2 separate regions of the Homo sapiens genome follow, and region 1 is linked to region 2. Evidence: promoter capture Hi-C in 16 types of primary human blood cells and fetal thymus (Javierre and others, 2016). All regions are on one chromosome and are shown on one strand. Each heading gives the region's core, a stretch centred on a gene start or on the middle of the fragment in contact. The rest is flanking DNA. Distances are from core to core; before and after follow the strand shown.

Evidence for each region. Contacts are between HindIII fragments. The CHiCAGO score rates a contact against its expected background, and 5 or more counts as called.
Region 1: a contact is called between a fragment that was not itself captured here and the fragment with the promoter of SEC62 in region 2, in 3 of 17 cell types (fetal thymus, naive CD8 T cells and total CD8 T cells). The highest score is 14.2, in fetal thymus.

Annotation. Positions count from the first base shown.
Region 1 is chr3:172,746,559-172,751,271 of GRCh38, forward strand. It overlaps ECT2 (epithelial cell transforming 2), which reads left to right and starts at 4,168. Exons shown (of 25, transcript NM_001258315.2): 1 at 4,168-4,299. RefSeq lists enhancers at 3,704-3,973, 4,074-4,123, 4,144-4,403 and a silencer at 4,514-4,583. The HindIII fragment of the contact is 750 bases long and covers 2,758-3,507 here.
Region 2 is chr3:169,963,249-169,968,211 of GRCh38, forward strand. It overlaps SEC62 (SEC62 preprotein translocation factor), which reads left to right and starts at 3,559. Exons shown (of 8, transcript NM_003262.4): 1 at 3,559-3,610. The coding sequence starts at 3,575. It also overlaps the pseudogene FHL1P1. RefSeq lists an enhancer at 3,238-3,677. The HindIII fragment of the contact is 8,040 bases long and covers 1-4,219 here.

The sequences.
Region 1 (4,713 bases), core at 1,883-4,382, 2.8 Mb after region 2:
TGAATTAATGACCATGGGTTAGAAAGGGGTGCTATCATTAGGGGGAACTGAAGGCTAAATATCCTTGATTCATGTGTGAAAGGGATTAAGAGATGGGAAGAAAATTTCGTAATCAGAATGGAATGTTTGAAGTTAACATTTGAGAGCTAAAGCAATTGAGTGTAAAACATTTAGGATATTGTCCATCAAAATAAGTGTTGAATTGAGGTTTTGGGATTCAAAAATTCAAGGAACTGTGAATCTAATTGGCTGGTTCATCAAAGGAAGAAAGACAGAGAACTAGTCTTCTGAATTTGGAAACTGTTCTATTTATTTAATGATACTGCTATTTATCAGAAATTTATATGGATGTAGTAATTTTTACATATTTTGATTCCACTCTCATCCTCTATATTTAATCAAAGTCCCAGTAATTTTTCCTATTCCTTATCTCTCCAACCCATCTTTTCTATCTTAGTTCAGACTATCATTTCCTATGAGTTTGAATTCAACCATATTCTCACTGGTCTTTCTTCTATTTCATTCTTCTATTTCAAGTGAAGTTGTGTTGTGTTCCCAGATTGCTACTTTTTTTTTTTTTTTTTTTTGAGACGGAGTCTCGCTCTGTTGCCCAGGCTGGAGTGCAGTCGCGTGATCTCGGCTCACTGCAAGCTCCGCCTCCTGGGTTGAAGTGATTCTCCTGCCTCAGCCTCTGGAGTAGCTGGGCCTACAGGTGCGCACCACCACGCCCGGCTAACTTTTGTAGTTTTCTTAGAGACGGGGTTTCACCATATTGGCCAGGGTGGTCTCGAACTCCTGACCTCAGGTGATCCGCCCGTCTTGGGCTCCCAAAGTGCTGGGATTACAGATGTCAGCCACTGTGTCTGGTCCTGATCGCTACTTTTAAAAAATAACACAGACCATATAATTTCCTTGCTTCAAGGTTTTTAATTGATCTTCAGTGCTTTCAGCATAAAGTTTAAACTCTGTCATGACAGTGGAGCTCTTCCCAAGCTCCTTCTAACATGGCATTTATTTTACTTTTTATTTTTTATTTTTTGAGATGAAGTCTCGCTCTGTCGCCCAAGCTGGAGTGCAGTGGCGCAATCTCTGCTCACTGCAAGCTCCGCCTCCCGGGTTCACGCCATTCTCCTGCCTCGGCCTCCCGAGTAGCTGGGACTACAGGCGCGTGCCACCACGCCCGGCTAATTTTTTTGTATTTTTAGTAGAGACAGGATTTCACCATGTTAGCCAGGATGGTCTCGATCTCCTGACCTCGTGATCCGCCCGCCTGGGCCTTCCAAAGGCATGTAATCTCATGCCTGGGATTACAGGCATGAGCCACTGCACCTGGCCAGCATTTATTTTTTTTTGAGATGGGGGCTGGATGGTGGGGGGGAGGGGCGGTCTTGCTCTATCGCCCAGGATGGAGTGCAGTCACTACCTAGGCTGGTCTTGAACTCCCGGCTTCAAGGGATCCTCCTGCCTTAGTCTCCCAAAGTGCTGGAATTATAGGCATGAGCCCCCACACCTAGCCTAACCTAGCGTATGTCAGTTGTCTTCCACTGTCCTCTTCATGTATATTATGATCCAGCCACACCAAACTGTTTACTGTCTCCTATATATATTGAGCTTTTATGAGAGCCTAAAGTGCACGTAAACAAGCTAATATTAAGAATTTATGTTTTTAAAAAAGTTCAAGGTTAATATGCCATTCAGTTCAATTGCCTATGCCGTATATAGTATTTAAAAATTTTTCATAATGCTGATCTTGAAACACTATAGCACTTGAAACAGCTTCTGACTCAGTAAGACTAAGTTACTTGTATCATTGTTTTGTAGGTATTTGAATTCTGTGAAAACCTATGCATGCAATAAATTTTTCACCGCAAATACAGCTATCTGCTAGAAGTGCCATGAGAACAAGGCCCATATTTGTCTTGTCACACCTATATTCTCAGTGCTAGCATAGTACCTAATGGGTGCTTAATAGTTATTAAATGAATAAACTATGATTAGGTTAATCAGGACATCCAGTCTCTCAAACATTATGAATGAACTTGGATCTAGCTCATTCACTCTCGAAATATTTATTTGGTACCTACATGTGAAGATTCCTGTGTTTATTAGAGAGCAATGTGTAACATTTGCCTTTGCAGTACTAGCTTTTTGAAAATACCTGAAGATGAGGGATCATGTTTTACTTTACCAGACACCAGCCCTCTGCTAGGTGCAATTAAGTGGCATATGATCACCTATGCACACGATTATCTGAAATACTCCTCTCCACATTGCTTTCTTTGAGCCTGCAGACAGATCTATACTAGACTTTATTTACACTCATCTATTATTTCTGGGTTCTAATGCGGGCTAAAATATTTATTAGGAGACACTGGGTAAGTTACTTAAACCTTTCCTACAGTTTCATGGTATCATGGGACTATGATACCTACTTGTGGGTTGTTTTAAGGATTAAATAAGGTATAAAGTGCATAGTAAAGTATCAGTATGTTCATTCTCTTTCTTCTCTCCCTTATACTGTAATTATCTGTTTATCTGCTAATTTCCCTCACCAGATTGTGTGGTCCAGACAGGCAGTTTTCTATGCCTTATTCATCTTTATAACCCCAACAAGCACAATGGCTGTCTTAAAATTAGTAAATATTTGCTGAGTAAATGAAGACCTAAGAGAGTGAAAAAGGTTGTATTACCCGTTTATTTGTTAATCTAACTGCCACACATCCCTTAAAAGAAATCAAGTACAGCTTTTGTTAGGGAAGCTTAAAATTCATGGCAATGATACCATACACAGTTAATCATTAGCTTTGGAAAGTCTGTTGAGCAGAAAGCGGTGCACAAAGGAAGTAGGGCTGCTTCCCACAATAGCTTAATATGTTTTCAGTGATGAACGTTTTTGGAATGCTGGGCACACCCGACTTCCAAATACGCAAGCACATTCCAAATGGAAATTTCAATTACTGTTTTTCTTTTTTTCTGCCGTAACAGTTATCACAGCATTTTAATGAAGGTCAGACTTAAATACTGACAAGCAGGGAAACCAATAATTACCAGATTGCTTCATTCATTTTGTGGACAGCATTATAAACTTTTCAGGCATTCTAAGATTGCCTGACAAAATTAGAAAAAATTGTTAAGTCCCCACAACCTGCTTGAGATGCTCACAAGTGTTCCATCCCAAAGTACACGTTTGCCTCTTCTTATTGGTATTTAGGTTCTGGCATCTGATTCCCCTTTCTTCTTCTATTTATATTAGCCTTCAGGTGGGAACTATGGAAAACCCACCTGGTGGGGGTGTATTTTTCTTAAGAGATTGTGTTATATGGTATCATATTTAGAAAATAAAGAAATTATTTTCATAATAGCAACGCTAATCACAGGAAAAACTTGATACATTCTTGACTAGACTTTAGGGGAAAGTACAAGTTCTTAGTGGGCGGAGGGGGGCAAAGACGAAGCAATTTGGCTCCAAAAATTCTAGAATCTCGTGGCATATTTTTATCAAATTCAAGCTTATCTTTAAAAAAATCCGAGAATTTTTCTAATTTCTAAGAATTGATTCTAACCCGCGATACTCCCTAGATGGGAGCGCAGTGCTTTAAATAATAGCATTTAAATAAGCGGCTGCTGATTTGAAGTCCACCTGGGGAGTCCGAGTTCTAGGACCGGTCCTTGGCCCTGCCACACGCCAATACAACCATCAAAGTCAAAATCCCTTAACTCAAATTTAAATACATTCCTAAAGCAGAAAGCATCCCGATAGGAAAATCCTACAGCTCACAGCAAGCAGCAGGGAAACATTTATCTCTGGCGGCACTGATTTAAGCTTAAAAGATTTGGTATCGTTTAAAAAAAAAAAAAAGCTGGGTGGGGCCGAGGAGAATCCACCCAAACTTTCCTCAGGAAGTAGGATGTTTACTGAGTAAATATGCGGTAGTCACAGAAACACCTGCTACTCCTTTAAGACCTCAGGAGCCACCACCGCCACCTCCTGGCCACATCCGGGCACTTCTCTGCAAACTCCTGGCGTCCCGACGCCCGAGTCGTTGGGCTTATTTGAAACACACGCACAACCAATCAAGCGGCGCCTGCCGGGACTTGGAGAGCGTCGACCAATCACCGCCCCTCTGGAGACTCCTGCCTATGGGAAAGAGGTTGACATCACGCGCCAATCGGCATGGCTCTTAGAGAGAGCAGCTTAGTTTTTGAATCGGTTGTGGCGGCCGCCGGCGAGGAATGGCGGTATTTGTGAGAGGAGTCGGCGTTTGAAGAGGTGGAACTCCTAGGGCTTTTTTGAGAGTGGTAAGGACTCTGTGTGAGTGAGAGAGGTGCAAGTGGGCGAGCGGCTCCAGAGCCAAGGGCTCTTTTGCCTGCGGTCGACGTCCCCGCCCCTAGTGACCGCGAATTCCGGAGCGCCCCAGCTCAGGCTTCCCGGATCCGGGAACTCCCTCGCCGCACCCCACCCCCAGCAGCCGGGCCCTGACGCGGAGTGGGAGACCGAAGCCCCCAGTATTGCTGGGCATCTTCGCCCTCACCTGTTGGCTCTTTTGGACAGAAGAGTGTGGGTGAAGGGAGGGAGTTGGGAAAGGGATTTTGGCAAGCCGCGCAGCCCTGTGGCTTTGGGGGCCGGCACTTGCAGCCTTTGGGGGCTTATCTCAGAGTGCGCCGTGGTTTTATTCTAGGATTCATCCTGGCTTCTTTGCGGGAAGTTTAATT
Region 2 (4,963 bases), core at 2,309-4,808:
AGGAACTTAAGCATCTGCAGATTTAAGCATCTAAAATCTAGAACTAATCCTGATTTACTCACTGTCATTCACTGTTACAGATTTTTGACAGGGGTCCTGCAATTAATCCCCAGCCAATACTGATGGACGACTGTACCATATAATTTGCCTTCTTGTGTTTTACAGTCTGTTCTCTTCTTCCCAAAATATAAGCTCCACAAGAGCAGGATGTTTGCCTCTTGAACACTAGTATATCCTCAGTGTCTAGAACAAGGACTGGCACATAATAAGCCCTCAATAAACATTTGTTTAATGAATGAATAAATATAACTCATTTCCTCAAAAATCTCCAGTAAAGTCTCTTGTAACTAATAGTTTTGCTTTGGCAAAAGAAAGAACAGGGGCCAGGTGCAGTGGCTCATGCCTGTAGTCACAGCACTTTGAGAAGCTAAGGCAGGCAGACTGCTTGAGCCCAGGAGTTAGAAACCAGCCTGGGCAACATGGAGAAACCTGTCTTTACAAAAAATTAAAAAATTTAGTTGGGTGTGGTGGCACGACCTGTGGTCCCAGCTATTCAGGAGGCTGAGGTGGGAGAATCCCTTGAGCCCAGGAGGCGGAGGTTGCAGTGAGCCGAGATCGCACCACTGCACTCCTACCTAGGCGACAGAGCAAGACCCTGTCTTCAACAACAACAACAATAACAAAAAATACTCCTCGTTTGGGAGAGAAATAACTGTCAAATAATAAGAGTAAAATTGGAAATTCAAAAGTAAGTTGGAACTAGAAGTGGCTAGGGGAAACTCCTTACTGCCACCATCAATAATATAGATGGTGTGCTGGGAAAAGGATTTGAGCTATTTTTATATAAATATTTTTATATAAATATTAAATGGAAAGGAGACCCAGAAATTTGACCCATAAATCTGAGGTTATATGTGTGAACATTAGCCATCATTCATGCTGCTACACACAACAGGGAGTCATGGAAGGAAGAAGGTCTGGAGTGTAAAGAGCATAGAAGTGAGGAGAACAATTAAAAGGCCATTGCAATACTAGTTCACGTAGGTGATGATAAGGACTTGAACAAGGCAATGGTAATGGGAATGATAAGGGAGGGAAGAATTCCAAATATCTCAGCTGTAGAATCAACAGGATTGGTGACTGACTGGCAGAAAGGCATGGTTGGGATGCATCCAAGGTTTCTAGCATGAGTAATTGAGTGAACAACGATGTAGTTATTAGATTTTTACAGTAAAAGGGGCAGGTTTTGCTGGGGAAATGGTGATTTTTAGTTGGACATCCAGTGGAAACATCCAGAAGAAATCTGGAATTAAACATGAATGCAGTATTTTGGAATTAATCTGTAAACAGAATGCACAAATAGAAGAGACAAGAGGAAGGTGAACATATAAAAACGGTGGCCAGGAACATGTGAGAATTGGGTAAAAGGAGAGAAGTCAACGAGAAATCAGAAAGAAGTTGATATACATGCCAAAGAAGGAAAAGAAGTCAAGAAGAACAGTCAATATTGTCAAATACTGAGTAAGATGCCAGCTGAGAGAAGGTATTGGGTTTGACAAAATAATTGTTACTGGATGGTGGAGGTAGAAACCAAATTGTTGTAATCTAAGGAGTGAATGACAGAACAAGAGGACACTAAATTAAAGCTCTGCTGATGAAGAAAATAGTAAGGCAGTAACTTGAGGATGAGTCATTGTCTATAAAGGATTTTTATTCCCCACCATAGTCCTAACCTAACATTTGACATCTATCTAGTAGGCACTCAATACCTACTGAATGCAATAATATTTTCATTTATAGACCAGGTCTCCTATAAAATAGTCCAGTGTTTATGTCCACATAAAACAGCACAAAACAGATTCATCATTCTGGGTGGGTAGAGGGATTGAAGGAAATAAAGACATTTCATATTCTATATTATGTTTTGGGTTAATTGGCAAGAATAATTACTTCTTTCTCACCCCATCCCTGACTATACACACACCCAAATTATAGATTATAGAGGAGAAAGGAATTAAATGACTCCTGAGACCAGAACTGCATAGTCCAAAAAAAAAAAAAAAATTCAGCAATCTTACTTTATTAAAAAATTAGGCATCAAGATGCTGCAATTTGCCTTACTTACATATTTAATTGCTCTTAGGTTAGATATATAATATGGGAAACCTGGAAAAAAATTTTAATGGTATAATAAACGCTTACAACCTAACATTAAGTGAAAAAAGCAGCTGCCTTATTGCATATGATCTCAATTTGGGAAACAGGAAAAAATATAAATACAAACACACATGCACACACACACACAAAGTCAGAATACTATAAGAAAATAAACTGAACGGTCACAGTGGCTCACGCCTGTAGTTCCAGTTACTCAGGAGACAGAGACAGGTGGATCGTTTTGAGCCCAGGAGTTCAAGACCCGCCCGGGCAACATAAGGAAACTCCATCTCCACACAAAAAAAGTAAAAATTAGCCAGGTGTGGTGGCTCATGCCTGTAGTTCCAGCTACTCAGGAGGCTGAGGAGGGAGATCAGTTGAGACGAGGAGTTCGGTGATGCAGTGAGCCGAGACTGCGCCACTGCACTCCAGCTTGGGCAATATAGAGCGAAACTCAGCATCAAAAAAAAAAGAACATCTTTCTATTCTGAATTTTCCCAATTTTCTACAATTAAAAACGCTTTAAAGATCTCTATAAAGTCAGTCAAGGGAATTTCTATCTAAGCACTTACCAGCAATTTGAGCTCCTTCTCTTTTGGTCTAGGTGGCTCTAAAATAACAATAAAGGCTACAGTGATTGAAATTCACCAGACTTGAAATAGACTGCAGCCTTCTTCCTTCCCACCTTCTTAGAATCTTTGTCCTATTCATCTTCCTTACGCTTCCCCGGGTTCTCTTACTTCTGGATTCTAACAGTGAGTTGTGAGAAGCAACGCGGAAAACGGAATGGAGACTCCAGCTTGTTTTAAACGAGCTGTATTACCCCGCACAGTGCAGGAGAAAAGATAATTGGCTCAGGTCTCGGCTCTGCCATCTACCACCTGTGGAGCCTTAGATAAGTCAGTTCTTATCTCTGTCACTCAACGGTCTCGGTCTTGTCATCTTTTACATGGAATGTCATGAAATATACAGTACATTGCAGGAACTGCCTCAGGTAAAGACTTCTAGGGTTCAGTAGGTCTCAGTCGATCCCTCTGAGAAAGGCCGCACCCTAAATGCACAGACTCTGACTCTAAGGGGATGGGGTCGGGGAATCTGCATTTTAGTAGCTTCTCAGGTGATTCAGATGCTCAGTCAGGATTGAGAAACCAGGACTCTTCCCAGCCCTCCTGTTCTCTGATCCACTTCTCTGCTTCCTCCACGTCCTAACGATTCTCCAGTTCCCGCACAGCAGGAGCGGAGGGAAGAGGGGAGAGAAGGCACCGCTAAGGACCGCTGGCCCCGCCAGGCGGCCGACCTCCCCATTCCAGGGGCGCCAGCCGGCGGATTACATAACGGGCCTCGGGGCGCGTTCTCGCGAGGTTTCCACCGCCCCCTCCTCGCTCCACGTCAGAGGGAACCGGGCGGAGCGGCCAACATGGCGGAACGCAGGAGACACAAGAAGCGGATCCAGGTAGCAAAGCCGAGCTCTGGGCAGGGGGCTTCGGCGCGCTGGATAGTGGAAGGGGCGGGGAAAGCCCCCTAAAAGGGCGAGCGAAAGCAAGGGCGAGGTGGGGTGGGGTGGGGTGGGGTTCCGCCGCGAGGCAGCTGGCTGCAGGCTGCGCGTTGTGAGGGGCCTGAGGGGGGGCGGTGTTGGCGACGGCGGAGACAGAGACGGAGGTGGTGGTGGAGCAGCAGGGGAAGGAAGGAGGCGCCGCGCTCAGAATCCGGCTGCGGAGGCGCGGCTGTGGGCCTGGAGTTCCTGTGGTCGCGCTGTCCCGGGCCTGAGCTGGAAGGTCAGCCTCCCCTGGGGCGCAGACGCTGACCCTTCCCGGGGCTCCTCCCCTCCCTTCACCCCATCCTCTGGCCTTAGCTGGCCTGAAATTAAGGCCACGGTAATAGGGGTAGCAGGAGGCGGCGGACTGACCTAAAGCAGCTGGTTCTTTGTGCGCATAGACCGTAAGGGGGAATGATCTGGACTTGGTCAGCTGCCTCGGGGCCTAGGCAGGGATCTGCTCATCCAGATGTTCAGTTGCGTTGCCCTTCTTTCCCTTCAATATTATTAACTTAATAGTCCACTTGAAGCTTGCCGGCTTTTTTCCGGGCGACGTGGTGTAAACAACCACAACCTCGTTGGTGCTGCAACGAGCTGGTGGAGCCCAGAAACCTTTCACATGCCAGTGTGTCATCCTCGTAGTAACGTACATAACATCTCCCCCTAATTCCACATGCGTGTCATTTGTGCATTTCTTCCTTGCGATTTTCCCTGGTTCTTGTTCTTTGCCAAGAGGATTAATTATGTAGAACATCTTGGACTCAGGATATTTATTAGTCGTCTCATCAGCTGATGTGCTGAGAAACCTTCATAAGCCCTCAAATTGATCACATGTAGTAAATTGTTACTATAATCATAAATTGTTACATTCATCATTGCCTTTCTGTTCCTTACTATTTCATTGCTTAGAATGATTTTTTCTTTCTTCCATTTTATCCCTTCTTTTTTTTTTTAAGTTTATCGATTTATTGGCGTACAATACAGATGTTTTGAGCTATGCAAGTTAAAATTCTTCTGTAAACTTTTTAAGTGCTGTGAAAAAGACACACATGATCAGTAAATTTGGAATTTTGGAATTTGGCAGAAATAAAGTAGTTCCGAACAGGGTGCAGAAGGGAATTAGAAAGAGGCAGATTTCGAGTTCAGACAGATAAGACTAGGTCTTAAGATCAGTAGAAGTTTCTAATTATACTGTTCTTAATCTTTCAAGAGTTAGTGTTATTCCTCTGACGTGGGTATACAGTATTTTATTAGATTGTATATTGAAATTGT